Linked DNA regions of Homo sapiens: all the other regions are linked to region 1. Evidence: promoter capture Hi-C in 16 types of primary human blood cells and fetal thymus (Javierre and others, 2016). All regions are on one chromosome and are shown on one strand. The core of a region is centred on a gene start or on the middle of the fragment in contact, and the rest is flanking DNA. Distances in the headings are between cores, read along the strand shown. Region 1 holds the start of ITGA4 (integrin subunit alpha 4). Region 2 overlaps LINC01934 (long intergenic non-protein coding RNA 1934). Region 3 overlaps LINC01934 (long intergenic non-protein coding RNA 1934).

The links. Contacts are between HindIII fragments. The CHiCAGO score rates a contact against its expected background, and 5 or more counts as called.
Region 2: a contact is called between a fragment that was not itself captured here and the fragment with the promoter of ITGA4 in region 1, in 3 of 17 cell types (total CD8 T cells, erythroblasts and naive CD8 T cells). The highest score is 7.9, in total CD8 T cells.
Region 3: a fragment that was not itself captured here is called in contact with the fragment with the promoter of ITGA4 in region 1 in 3 of 17 cell types (erythroblasts, total CD8 T cells and naive CD8 T cells); the score reaches 12.3 in erythroblasts.

Annotation. Positions count from the first base shown.
Region 1 is chr2:181,455,013-181,458,967 of GRCh38, reverse strand. It overlaps ITGA4 (integrin subunit alpha 4), which reads right to left and starts at 1,582. Exons shown (of 28, transcript NM_000885.6): 1 at 1,117-1,582; 2 at 651-772. The coding sequence starts at 1,313. RefSeq lists enhancers at 536-585, 946-995, 1,056-1,245, 1,966-2,075 and a silencer at 1,396-1,785. The HindIII fragment of the contact is 9,740 bases long and covers 1-3,955 here.
Region 2 is chr2:181,389,609-181,393,398 of GRCh38, reverse strand. The region is part of intron 4 of LINC01934 (long intergenic non-protein coding RNA 1934); the gene reads right to left. Among named protein-coding and RNA genes, the nearest start is that of ITGA4, 66 kb to the left of the region's middle. The HindIII fragment of the contact is 3,233 bases long and covers 75-3,307 here.
Region 3 is chr2:181,368,519-181,372,430 of GRCh38, reverse strand. The region is part of intron 4 of LINC01934 (long intergenic non-protein coding RNA 1934); the gene reads right to left. Among named protein-coding and RNA genes, the nearest start is that of MIR4437, 65 kb to the right of the region's middle. The HindIII fragment of the contact is 1,318 bases long and covers 1,663-2,980 here.

The sequences.
Region 1 (3,955 bases), core at 333-2,832:
GTACACATTTTTCAACTTGTCACAAATCTGAGACATTGAGAAATGACTGCAAAAAGATGGACCCATATAACATGAGTTTTGGATGACGGTTTTGGGAATGGAAAATTATACTACATTAACGATGAAGATGCCAATTTTCCTTTTCTTTTAGATTGTATATTGTAAGTAAAACTATCACTTTTTTTTTTAGGCCTTTAGGTTAAACGACGGGATATGGGATCAATTCCAATTGCTATTCCTGATATGCTCCTTAGCCTGTTCTTTAAGAGGGTTGATAGGTCAAAGATGGAAATAAAATTCTCAAGTCTTGGCTTAGCTGGATCCTGTCCTTAATACGCTGAGAGAGTCTAAAATGTGCTTTACACACGGAGAGACGGGGAGAGATGAAGAGAAGGTATCATAAGAAATTTCTCTAGCATAGTTGTCAGAGTACTGCAATCATTGCCATAAGGAAAAGGGAGAACGATATTAACAGAAAGGGAATCCCTTTTATATTAAGGAGGCAAGATGAGATGGAGTTGAAACTGAAAACTTTATGCTCTTTAAACCAGAAGTAACAGGCAACGTGAATCTTTCCAGGACTTGCCCTATGGTGGGGTCCACATGGGGGGTCGGGAGGTCACTAACTCCTGGTCCCATACCCAACTCACCCAGCTGGAGCTGTTCGCACGTCTGGCCGGGATTCTTTCCGATCCTGCATCTGTAAATCGCCCCGGGATTGATCACTGAAGCGTTGGCGAGCCAGTTGGCAGTGGGCGCACCCACTAGGAGCCTAAAGCGAGACACGTGCACGTGCGCTCAGACGTGAGCTGTGCTGCCCACTGAGCTCCCTGTCGCCACAGATGTGCAGTCCGCAGCAGGGCAGCTTCCCCACCTCCTCCTCCGCCCACCACCCCCGACTCGAAGCTCCAAGACCTTGCACCATAACGCACCCGGGGCGCTGCCGCCCCAAGATAAGTTAGTTTCCCTGGCAGATTTCCAGCGAGCTGGCTCTCGCAGCGTTTCCCTCCTGCCTCCTTGGGAGGGAGGAAAGTTTGAATCGGGCAGGGAATCCCTAGGGCGCCATTCTCACGCCGCTCTGAGCTGCTGAGGGCGCATCAGTCCAACTCTACTCACCATCGGTTCGCCCCGTGGCTGTGCAGCACGACCGAGTAGCCGAACAGCGTGTTGTGGGGGCCCTGGTAAAGCAGCGCGCTCTCAGTGTCCACGTTGTAGGGGCGGCCGGTCGGGACCCCCAGGCACAGCAACAGCATCACCGTCTCCCGGACGGCGGCCCTTCGGGGGCCGGGTTCGCGCCTCGCTTCCCAAGCCATGCGCTCTCGGTGGGGAACATTCAACACTAAACGGCCACTACCCCAAAGTTGCACGGGATGCGACGGTTGGCCAACGGGGAAGAACGCCCCAAGAGATGAGGCGCAGCGTGTCCGGCGCCAGCGGGCTAAAGGAAGGAGAGAGGGAAGAGGAGGGGAAGTCGGCCCACCGCGGGCGGAGCGTTCGGGCCGGCCTGGGATGCCGCGCACTCGCCCGGCCCCACTCCCGGTTTCTGCCGCCAGCCGGGAGCTTCGGGTGCTCGCGCTGCTTCTCCGGGTACGGGCCGCTGGGTGGGGTCCCGGGCGTGGTGCGGAGGCGCAGGGCCGGGCTCCGTCTCTGCCTACGCGCGGCTGCAGGGGGCGCTGGGGAACCTCGGCTGCGCAGGACTCGCGTCCTGGCCCGGGCCTCCCAGCCCGCAGAGCGCGGGATGGCTCTGGGCTCAGCAAGAGCGGACCTGATGGGGCACGGGCTTCCCCTTTTAACGGTGGTTGGGGCCTAGAAGCGGAGCTGTGTGACCCCAAACTGCGCGCCCCTCGCTGTGACCGCCCAGCCCGGCGTGGCCCAAATGCCAGCCACAAACTCGGGGAGTGGGACTGCGGCGGGGAGCCGTCCAGTTCTTTCGTTGATAGTTAAACACTGTGTCTTGTTTTTCAGGTGTAGGCAACCACTAGATAAATTATCAAGAGCCACAGATTAAAAACAAAAAACCAAACAAAAAGACTCGCCGAAGGCCCCTGGGGAACATTTTAGTGACAAAGACGTTATGGCTATTCTCTTCAAGACCCACATCTCAGCACCCTTCTATACCCACTTCCTTCCTCCCCACACTTCCTCTGCAGCCCGGGCTGCATGCGTGAGCAGGCTAGCAGCAGCCTCTCAGGCTGAACGGCAGGCGGTTTAGGCTGTGGCTGACCCCAACAGAGAGGTTGGGTTAAGGAAGCACTGTGACTTGATTCACTTTAACCGATTCGGATTGCTCCAGCTGGTAATTGATGATCCCCCCTTTTCACGCACCCACTCAGTTGCCACGGGACACACCTGCTTTTAGGGGTGTAAACCCCAGTGTGGGGTCAGGGTCCTAATGAGCCTCTGAAATGTGCCGGAGACCCACAACGCAACACACCTGAACTGGGTAGTGAGTCTCATTCTAATGCAATCCAGGTGTGCCCTGCCTTTTTTTTTTTTTTCCTTCAGCAACCAGAGAGACAGCCATAGGTGATTATTAGACTGATATTTTCAGGAGATGAAAGTCTAGTTTTTTATTGTTGCTATATGTAAAAAGAAAAGAAAAGTCTGCATCAAAGAGTGTGTCTGTGTGCTAAAACCATGCTGGAATAAATAACACATCTGACACTAATGACAGATACACAATTAAAATGCTTATTCATTTATTCAGCACATTCATGGAGCAGGCACTTGACTAGGACCACAGGATTCCACCAAGAGTAAGGCAGGACTGATACAAAGTTTCAAAAAATGTTCGCTCCAATGGTAGATAGAAAAATTTGTACTAACTAGAGAAAGATCCAGGTAAGGACACTTAAAGAGAGATTTGAAGGACCAGGAATCTTGAATCAGGCTAAGAATGGGATGAGCAATAAGGAGGGCTCCAGAGGAGCCAGGTAGAAGAACTGAGAGAGCTTGCCTGGCTAGAGTATTTAGCCACTCCACACACAGGTTGGTGTGATATGAGGCTGACTTAGGGAAGCAGGAATACATGGTGAACCTCATGAGCCAGGTTAGGAATTTTAAATCTATGTTGGGACTGACAGGAAGTTGAAGAATTTGTCTCGGTCAGCTCTGGGTTTCAGAAGTGTGAATGCAAGACTGAACACAGAAAACCTAATTTTGGAAGCCCCTGCAGCAATAAGTAGAGATAGGATAATCCCAAGGGGAAGTATTTCTCTTTCTTGAAAGAGAATGGTGCTACCATTCATGGAGAAAAAAACACTGAGAAATGAAGTTATATGCATGTATGTGTGCATGCAGATGGGGGCATGGATGGGTTAAGTTTTAGCCATGTGGAGTTTGAGATGTTTATGGAATGACAGGATATTCTAGCCAAACTCAATGCAATTATTTTCAGTCTGTCAACAGACAAAACATGAGGAATATTAACTTTCTCTTACTCTATACTGGAAAAAGTCAATACAGTGTGTGATAAATCTATTGTAAAAATGAAATGGCTTCCAGAAAGCTAACAATCAGGGCCCATGGCTGTTTCTTTCTGTAGTAGTGCTGAGTGTGTTTCTTTCTTAGTAGATCTACATGCTGATTTTAACCCAGTTCCACAATGAGCTTACAGTGTCGTTATTCTGAACTATGCAATCCTTCTTGTTTACAGCTACAAAACCTCCAGTTGAGGCCAAGGAAGTAGGTATGTTGAAGCCATTCTGACACCCTCCAGAAACTGGCAAAGCCAGATCTTCTGATCTGAACCCCTACCAGTTTCTTTCCCTCCCTTCACCAAAATCTTTTACAATGAAAGCCACTCAACACAATTCGTTTCATAGCGTAGTTTTGGTGACAAGCAGTCAGTGGAGTGGTTGGTAAGGCAGGACTTTTTTCCATAGTATGGTTATAGTTATGATTCACTACCTTTCAAGAAATAGCCACCCTACATTACCTCACGTTAGTTAGCTGA
Region 2 (3,790 bases), core at 442-2,941, 66 kb after region 1:
AGAAAGAGACTCAAGTATATATATGAATCAATATATAATTTTAATATTTCTAACTGGTAGAGGAGGTATAAGCTTATTCAACAGATAATGTCTGTTTTCTTTGGATACTACTATTTTTAAAACTAGTTGTTATTTTGATTACTTCAACAAATGAAGCTGAACAGTTAAAAGCCTGAAAAATGTTAGATCTTATATTTAATTTATATAGAATTTATTTTGATATAATTTATAAAGAACAAAGTTAGCATACAAGTAAAAATTATTTTTATAATCCTGGGATGAGGAACACATCATAAGCATGGTATATAATATAGGAACCATATTAAAAAGTTTATAAACAATAAATAATGCAATAAAACAAAGTGAAAATAAAATGGCACACCAGGGGAAATATTTTCAACAAAACTGAGAAACTGTTGTTTCCTTAGTGTAATATTTGAAGATGTTTTATAAACTGTTATTAAGCAGGTGAATACCCACAGGAGCATACTGATTATGTCAAATAATTTTTTTAATCATGAAAAAATATAAGTGGCAAATAACTTGTGAAACAATGTTTGGTATATTTAATTATAAAAAGAAACAACAGTGAAATACAATTTTTCCTATCATTAGACAGGGAAAGATATAAATCAAATCTTATACTATTACTGAAGTTCACTTTGGTGATATAAATTAAAAGCCCTTATACTGGCTTGAGCAGATATTGTTTTGCGAAGATGGTAGCAATATATAACCCATGCCACATGTTTTTCTTACAACGTGACATCAACACTCCTCCATTGAGAGATGGGATCCATGTCCCCTCCCTTTGAACCTAGGTGACCTTTATAACTGCTTCTACTCATAGAATGTAGCAGAAGTCTAAGTAATAAAACGCAATATAGCTTCATCTACTGTGCACATACATAGCCCCTCTCTCTCTGTCTATTTGCTCTTGATGCCCAGCCATCTTGTGAAGAAGTTTGGCCTCCAACTGATGGCTAGGATTAAACTCTAGACATACGAGAGTGACCCTTCAGATAATTCTAGCCCCTTGACTTCTAGTCCTCTCGTTGCAATCCAGATATCACGAAACAGTGTTCCTGCTGAAAAATTGCAAAATGGTGTTTTGTTCTTCCACTCTTCCTACATTCCCCTTCCTATTACTGAACAAATTAGCAAATGCCCTTCTTGTTCTTAAGGGATGAATATAGACATAGGAATAGTAATTTACTTGAATGAATGTGCATAGACACATACTATCCTGAAAATGAATGAGTCATATTATTACACATTGAAAAGGTCATGGATAATATTATTATGCCTGTTTTTACACATGGGGAAAAGCATCCTAGAAAGTCTAAATGGATTACCCAGTAACCATCGGAAATTATCTGAGAACAAAACTAGATATACCCCAAAATTTATGATCTTTGCACTGTGCAGAGTAGCATCGGGAAACATTTCAAATTTCTATTGCACTATACTAGGTACTAGGTAAAGAGGATTGTATAGTCATATTTCCCTAGACATTTTAGTCTTTGTAAATTAATACTCATTTACTTATGAAGGGCAAAAAATTTGATATGAAGATAACACTGAATTTCACAAGTAGATTATTAGTGAAATGATATGATAAATAAATGAAGCTAAAAGGATTTACTTTAAATCTGAATGTTTTATTTATGTACCAAGATAATTCATTTATTTAGATAACTATATATTTTTAATACACTGTACTTATTTTCAACAGTCTAAAGTATAACCAGAAGGGGTTTATATTTTACACCTTAATTGTGTAGGACCTGTCCAAGGTATAATTGCGAATTCAGTAAAACTTATTTTCAGAACTCACTCATATTACCTGGCCTTCAAATTTCATTACCTGGACACATGGACATGTGTCTCTTTTCCTTATAGAAAGGTTAATTCTGGCCACAAAGCTATGTTACTTAAAGTAAATTGCCTAGCAATTCTATCTCATTGGCCCAGAAGTAATTAACATTTTTGACAATCACAATTTTAAATGAGCTACCCTGTCTTACAGTGATTGACTGATTTTTCATCTTGTTGTTTCAGAATGCTGCATAAAAATAAGTTACTAAGACTTTTTATAAACATTTTGGTACAATTTGCAAAATATCTTAAACCTTTAATTTAGGTTACGTAGAAATGGGCCATTGATTAGGCAAATGTCTAAGAAACTATCAGCTGTAGCACACATTCTATGAAGGGAAGAATACTGAAGGTCAGAGAATATCATTACCTGAGAGTCAAAACCTAAAAAGCAATAGAGCCAGAATTAGAAATCAGGTTTCCTAAACCTTAGTTGACTTCTTTTTTCCCACTGCTATATTCCACTGTATGGTTATGCTGCAGCTGCCTAGACAGGCCAAAGAAAATGAGCATCTACTTTTAGTCCTCTAGGACAGGTTACCTGCTGTCTGTGAAATACTCAGAACCTAGTGGTTGCTGGATTCTATATAATTAACAAGACAGTTCTAAATGTGGGCTAAGGATGTGTCTCATGCTATATAGATTGCATCCAAAGCTGTTGTTTACGTAATTGAGTGGTTATGGCAATCTTCCTAAATCATTGCAAATTATTAAGCAGCATGTGGCACAACTGGGACCAGGAAGGCTCAGGTGTAACAAATGATTGTCCTTTGAGAGAGACATTTCTTCACAATAGAAAAGTAATTCATTAGTGAAATACAAGAATCTCCAACTGGAGCAATTAAGCATATTGAAAAATGTTATATAAATATAGTCATTTGCTTCCTGTAAGAATTAAAGCTGAAACCAAAGATCAGTTTCCCAATATCCAAAGGATGCAAATTAACTTAAAATAGAATTTTTCTTTGACACATTATTTATATTTTTATTAAAATAGCATTTTTTTCTGTAGGGAATTTTAAGTTTCCATTTTAAATGTATTTATTTAATTCAGAGTTTTATTCTTACATAAAATATATAAGAAAAGCAGCAGAACTCAAAGAAAAACTTAGGAGGCAGGATATTATTGGTGTTTTAGATAAATATGATAGAAAATAAGAAGTTAAAAATCCAGGTAATTCATAAAACAGAAGAATTTTAACAAATAAACATAGCACCAGGAATAAGTTTGTAGTTACTGCACCAAAGATAATAAGCCGAAGACTAGAATATCTTGAATTTGAGTCTACCTGGCCCTAGAGTTACCTTGATGCCTCATACCTTAAATAAATCTGATGGCAATTTTCTTTTTCTTTCTTTTCCTTTTCTTAAAACTCACATACATTGTGTCTGTCATCTTCTTTTAGATTATAAACACATTTGTGAAGCTTTTATCCCTTTTGGGCACATATTAATTTGTTTTTAATACTGTTTTTCTGAGTAATCATTATAAATGAATATAGTAAAACTTCAAGCTACTTTTTTTGGTTTATTGTTTTCTGGGTTTTTTTTATATTAGTGAGTAGATTTCATTGAAAAACATTTTTGTTAACATTTGTTGGGCAAGGTTTGAGGAAACAGTACAATTGAAGTGGATCGCAAAATGAATATTAATTTAAGTCTCCAAAAGAAGCTGGACTAGACAAAAAGTTTGCATATTTTATGCCCATATTAAAAAAAAAAAACCTAACTCTAACATCTGTGAGTCATGATTAGGCATTCAATTAAGGCAAATAAATAAGTCAAACTTTTGCATGGATTCCATTAATCACATTTGCTATTACATCAGTTAAATTGAGGTTATTTATTTCACCATTTCATAAATAATATCTCATCGTGGACTTGTTTGTGGGTAAAAATAGGACATTGCATT
Region 3 (3,912 bases), core at 1,072-3,571, 87 kb after region 1:
TATGCTCAAGCTGACCTATTTCTTCTTCCTTCACTAAATATTATAGTAGCATATACCAAATGAAAATTATATTCATAATATTCAAAAACCCTCAAACAATCATAGTCTTCAATTTGGCAACACATATGGATTACTTTCCAGCCCTGTCAGGACAGAACAGATTCTGGACAAATCAAGAAAGAAGGAAGTGCTGGTACAATCACACAGACGAATGCCAGTTGTCTGAAAAAACAAGTTTGCTGTCATCTTGGGACATATCATTTTTAGAAACAATGACCCATTTGGCAGCCTCACACACATTCCCAGCTCTGAAAGCTTTCCAGCATTCCAGGCCTTACTTTATTTAGGTTTGGGATTTTTTGGGAATAAATCTTTGGTGAAGCAAGTGCAGAATCTTAATTCCATTCAGTATTACTCATTCCATTCACACCATTTTTTTTTTTTTTCTCATTGTGTCTTCTGTTAGCGACCCTTGTCTCCCTGCCTCAAAGACCTTGTCTGGACACCTCATATCAAATGGCAGCAGTGTGGAATGTCTAATTATTTCACTGTTGAACTTGAACAGCTGTCTGAGATGGTCTATTTAACCATGCTGGTCCTCTGGTTTTTGAAAACAGCCTTTGTTATATGAAGGATGTGGTTTTCCTCATTAGAAAATGTTTGCTTTTGGCCCAGTCAACATCTGAAAGGCCCTGAGTTAGATTTATTCAAAATTTCATGTTCTACTTTTTCAGTTTCAATTAAATTTTTATTGACTAGATGAGGTTTCTAAAGGGTAGAGAATTAGGTGTCTCAGGACCCAGAAAATTTTCCGCCTATTTCCAAGCATCTGACAGTATCAGTCTTCATCGAATTTTGAGACTTCAAATAGTTTTCCTAGCATAGAATGGGCTTTTCTAAAATATGTGAATTCTCTGAGCCAAAACATAAGTTCCTAGAGAATTTCTAGCCTGCACACCTAGGTTGAGAAAGATTCTGGGAAGCAAAACATTTTCCCTTTGAAAAGGGAGTTCAGACTAAGTTTCAGGGAGGAAGTGGGGTCATAAAAGAGTGGTAGGCAAGTGTAAGAACAGCCCTTTGTCAGGGAACTGGAGGGAGGGTGGTGGAGCCCTGGGAAGCAAAGGGACCCTGTTTTTAGTGAAGGCCTTTGACTTCTGAACTCATGATCTCTTCATTCTTTATGGGGTTTGCTTCGCTGTCAATTGCCCTTTGTTCATATGTGCCTGTTAACCTGACTTCCATTGTAGGGTGATGGTCTTTTTCCCTCCCCATCTTTGGATCTTCATATACAAACAGTTTTAATGATTCCATCATGTCCTTTGTGGAAACAGCCTAATAGGCTGTTATATTTTTTCATTTCACTCATATTCACAGCTTCTGTTCTCATTAGGTTAATATGAAATGAACGTAGTAATTTCCAACATGATTATAACAAGAACTAAGAATATGTATATTGTTCTTCATCTTATAAATCATTTTCACAATGTATCTCATTTATTAATCTATAGTCCTTGAGTAATTGTTAATTTGAGATCATTAGGCCTAACGAATTTTTTAAATGCATCAATTCTTCCTCAAAAGGTAGTTTGCAGATATTTACATAGGCTAAACAAAAATAGTAAAATGTTAAAAGTTTTTCTCAATAATTAAATAAGATAAGCTTTTATGACTTCTTCCTAATCTCAAATATCCTTTAGGAGCAAGTTAGAATCGAATTTTCTGCTTTCAGATTATATGTTCGACTCAAAATGAAGCAACAATTTGCTTATGTTTATTCAGTTAAGAAGAATTAAGTTCAATTTCTAGTACTCATAAAAATTTAGAAAAAATTCTCATGGAAGATATTTTACAACCACATTGGCTAATATGTATTCTTAAGTCTATGGATACTTTCAATAAGCTGACAACATAATTGTATGAGAAAATACATTCTTTTGAAAAGTTATAACATTTAAAATAAAGAAATATAAAAGGTACTATATGAGAATGGGTATCGCTTTTTCTCTTTAGGATGAATGGGCTAATTTATAACTTGTCAAGGGTCAGTAAGGCCAAATGCTCTAAGAAATATAGAGAAAAAGCCACATCATGGAATTGCTAAAGGGTACAAAGCGGTCATTGATTTATAAAGCAGACAATCTTCTGGTTTCCTCTTTATATTATGAACATTCCTCTATAACCCTTTTATTCCTGGGTCAATTAAACCAGTAAAAGTGGATGGCTTGTAGGGCCAGCCTGTGGCCCACATTTGGGCCCACGATCAGCATTTTAGCAGTTCAAGGATATATATCTGTGCTCACATATAACTCCTTACCTTCCCCACCAAGAGTGAAGAAGGGCCTGAAACTGCTAGGTGCCTTCTAGTATCCATTCTTCTCTTCTTCCTCAGGAACAAATTTTCATTTGGCATAGGAATGCAAACAACCTAAGGATTACATTTTTCTTCCTTCCTTACAGTTAGGTGTGTCCAAATTACTAACTCCTGGTCCATGAGACGAAACAGTCTTTTGGTAGCCTGCTTAAAGTCAGCTGACTCAGCAGGGATACTTAACTTTTGTCCCTTCTTCCTGATGTTTGGACTGCAGATGTGATGAATGGGGCTCTGGTTGCCATCTGGAATTATGAGGTAAACTTGAGAATGGAATGAGAGACAAAAAATGAGAAGGATGGTGTGGATTTCTGATGCCTTTGTTTCTGTCACTCCAGCCTGGACCACCTAACTCCAGATGACTTGTATGCGAGAGAGAGAGAAACTTTTATCTTTTTAAAGTCACTATTAGTATGGGTTTTCTATTACATGAATCTAATTCAAGGTGATAGAAGAGGGAATTTTATTGCCGTTTTGCTATTCCTGGGAAGAGCTGTATGACCTTCAGGGCTTCTCTTTAGAAACTGTAAGAGTGGTAGACCTTAGTGGGCCTGGACCACATGTGACAGGGCATAATGATAATAATGGTACTATTACCATTTAGTGAAAGCTTTATGCCAGTCACTGTTCAAGGTTCTTTTTTTACAGGCTTTTAACTTAATTACCATACCTACACCACACTTCAGTGTGTGTGTGTGTGTGTGTGTGTGTGTGTGTGTATATATATATATTTATATATATGCACATACAGCCACATGCCACTTAACAATGGGGCTCTGTTCTGAGAAATGTGTTGTTAGGGTGATCTTGTCATTGTGTGAACATCACAGAGTGTACTCACACAAACCCAGGTGTGATAGCCTACTATACACATAAGTTATATGGTATAGTCTATTGCTCCTAGGTTACAAACCTATACAGCATGTTACTATACTGAATACTGTAGGCAGCTGTAACACAATGGTAAGTATTTGTGTATCTAAACATACCTAAACATAGAAAAGGTACAGTAAAAACATGGTATAAAAGATTAAAAATAGTACATCTACATAGGACACACCATGAATGGAGCTTGCAGAACTGTAAGTTGCTCTGGGTGAGTTAGTGAGTAATGAGTGAATATGAAGGCCTAGGATATTATTGCACATTACTGTAGAATTTATAAACACTCTACACTTAGACTATAATACATTAAAAATTTTTTCTTTCTTCAGTGATAAATTAGCCTTAGCTTACTCTTTTTTACTCTATACGTTTTTAATTTTTAAAAAACTCTTTGACTCTTTTGTAATAACACTTAGCTTAAAGCACAAACACATTGTATGAGTATACAAAAATATATTCTTTCTTTATGTCTTTATTCTATAAGCTTTTTTCTATTTTTGGAAATTTTTAATTTTTAAAAATTTTTTGAACTTTTTTGTTAAAAATGAAGATACAAACACACATATTAGCCTAGGCCTACACACGGTCAGGATCATCAATATCACTATATATATATCAGAAATATATCACTATATCTTCCATGTCCACATCTTGTCCCA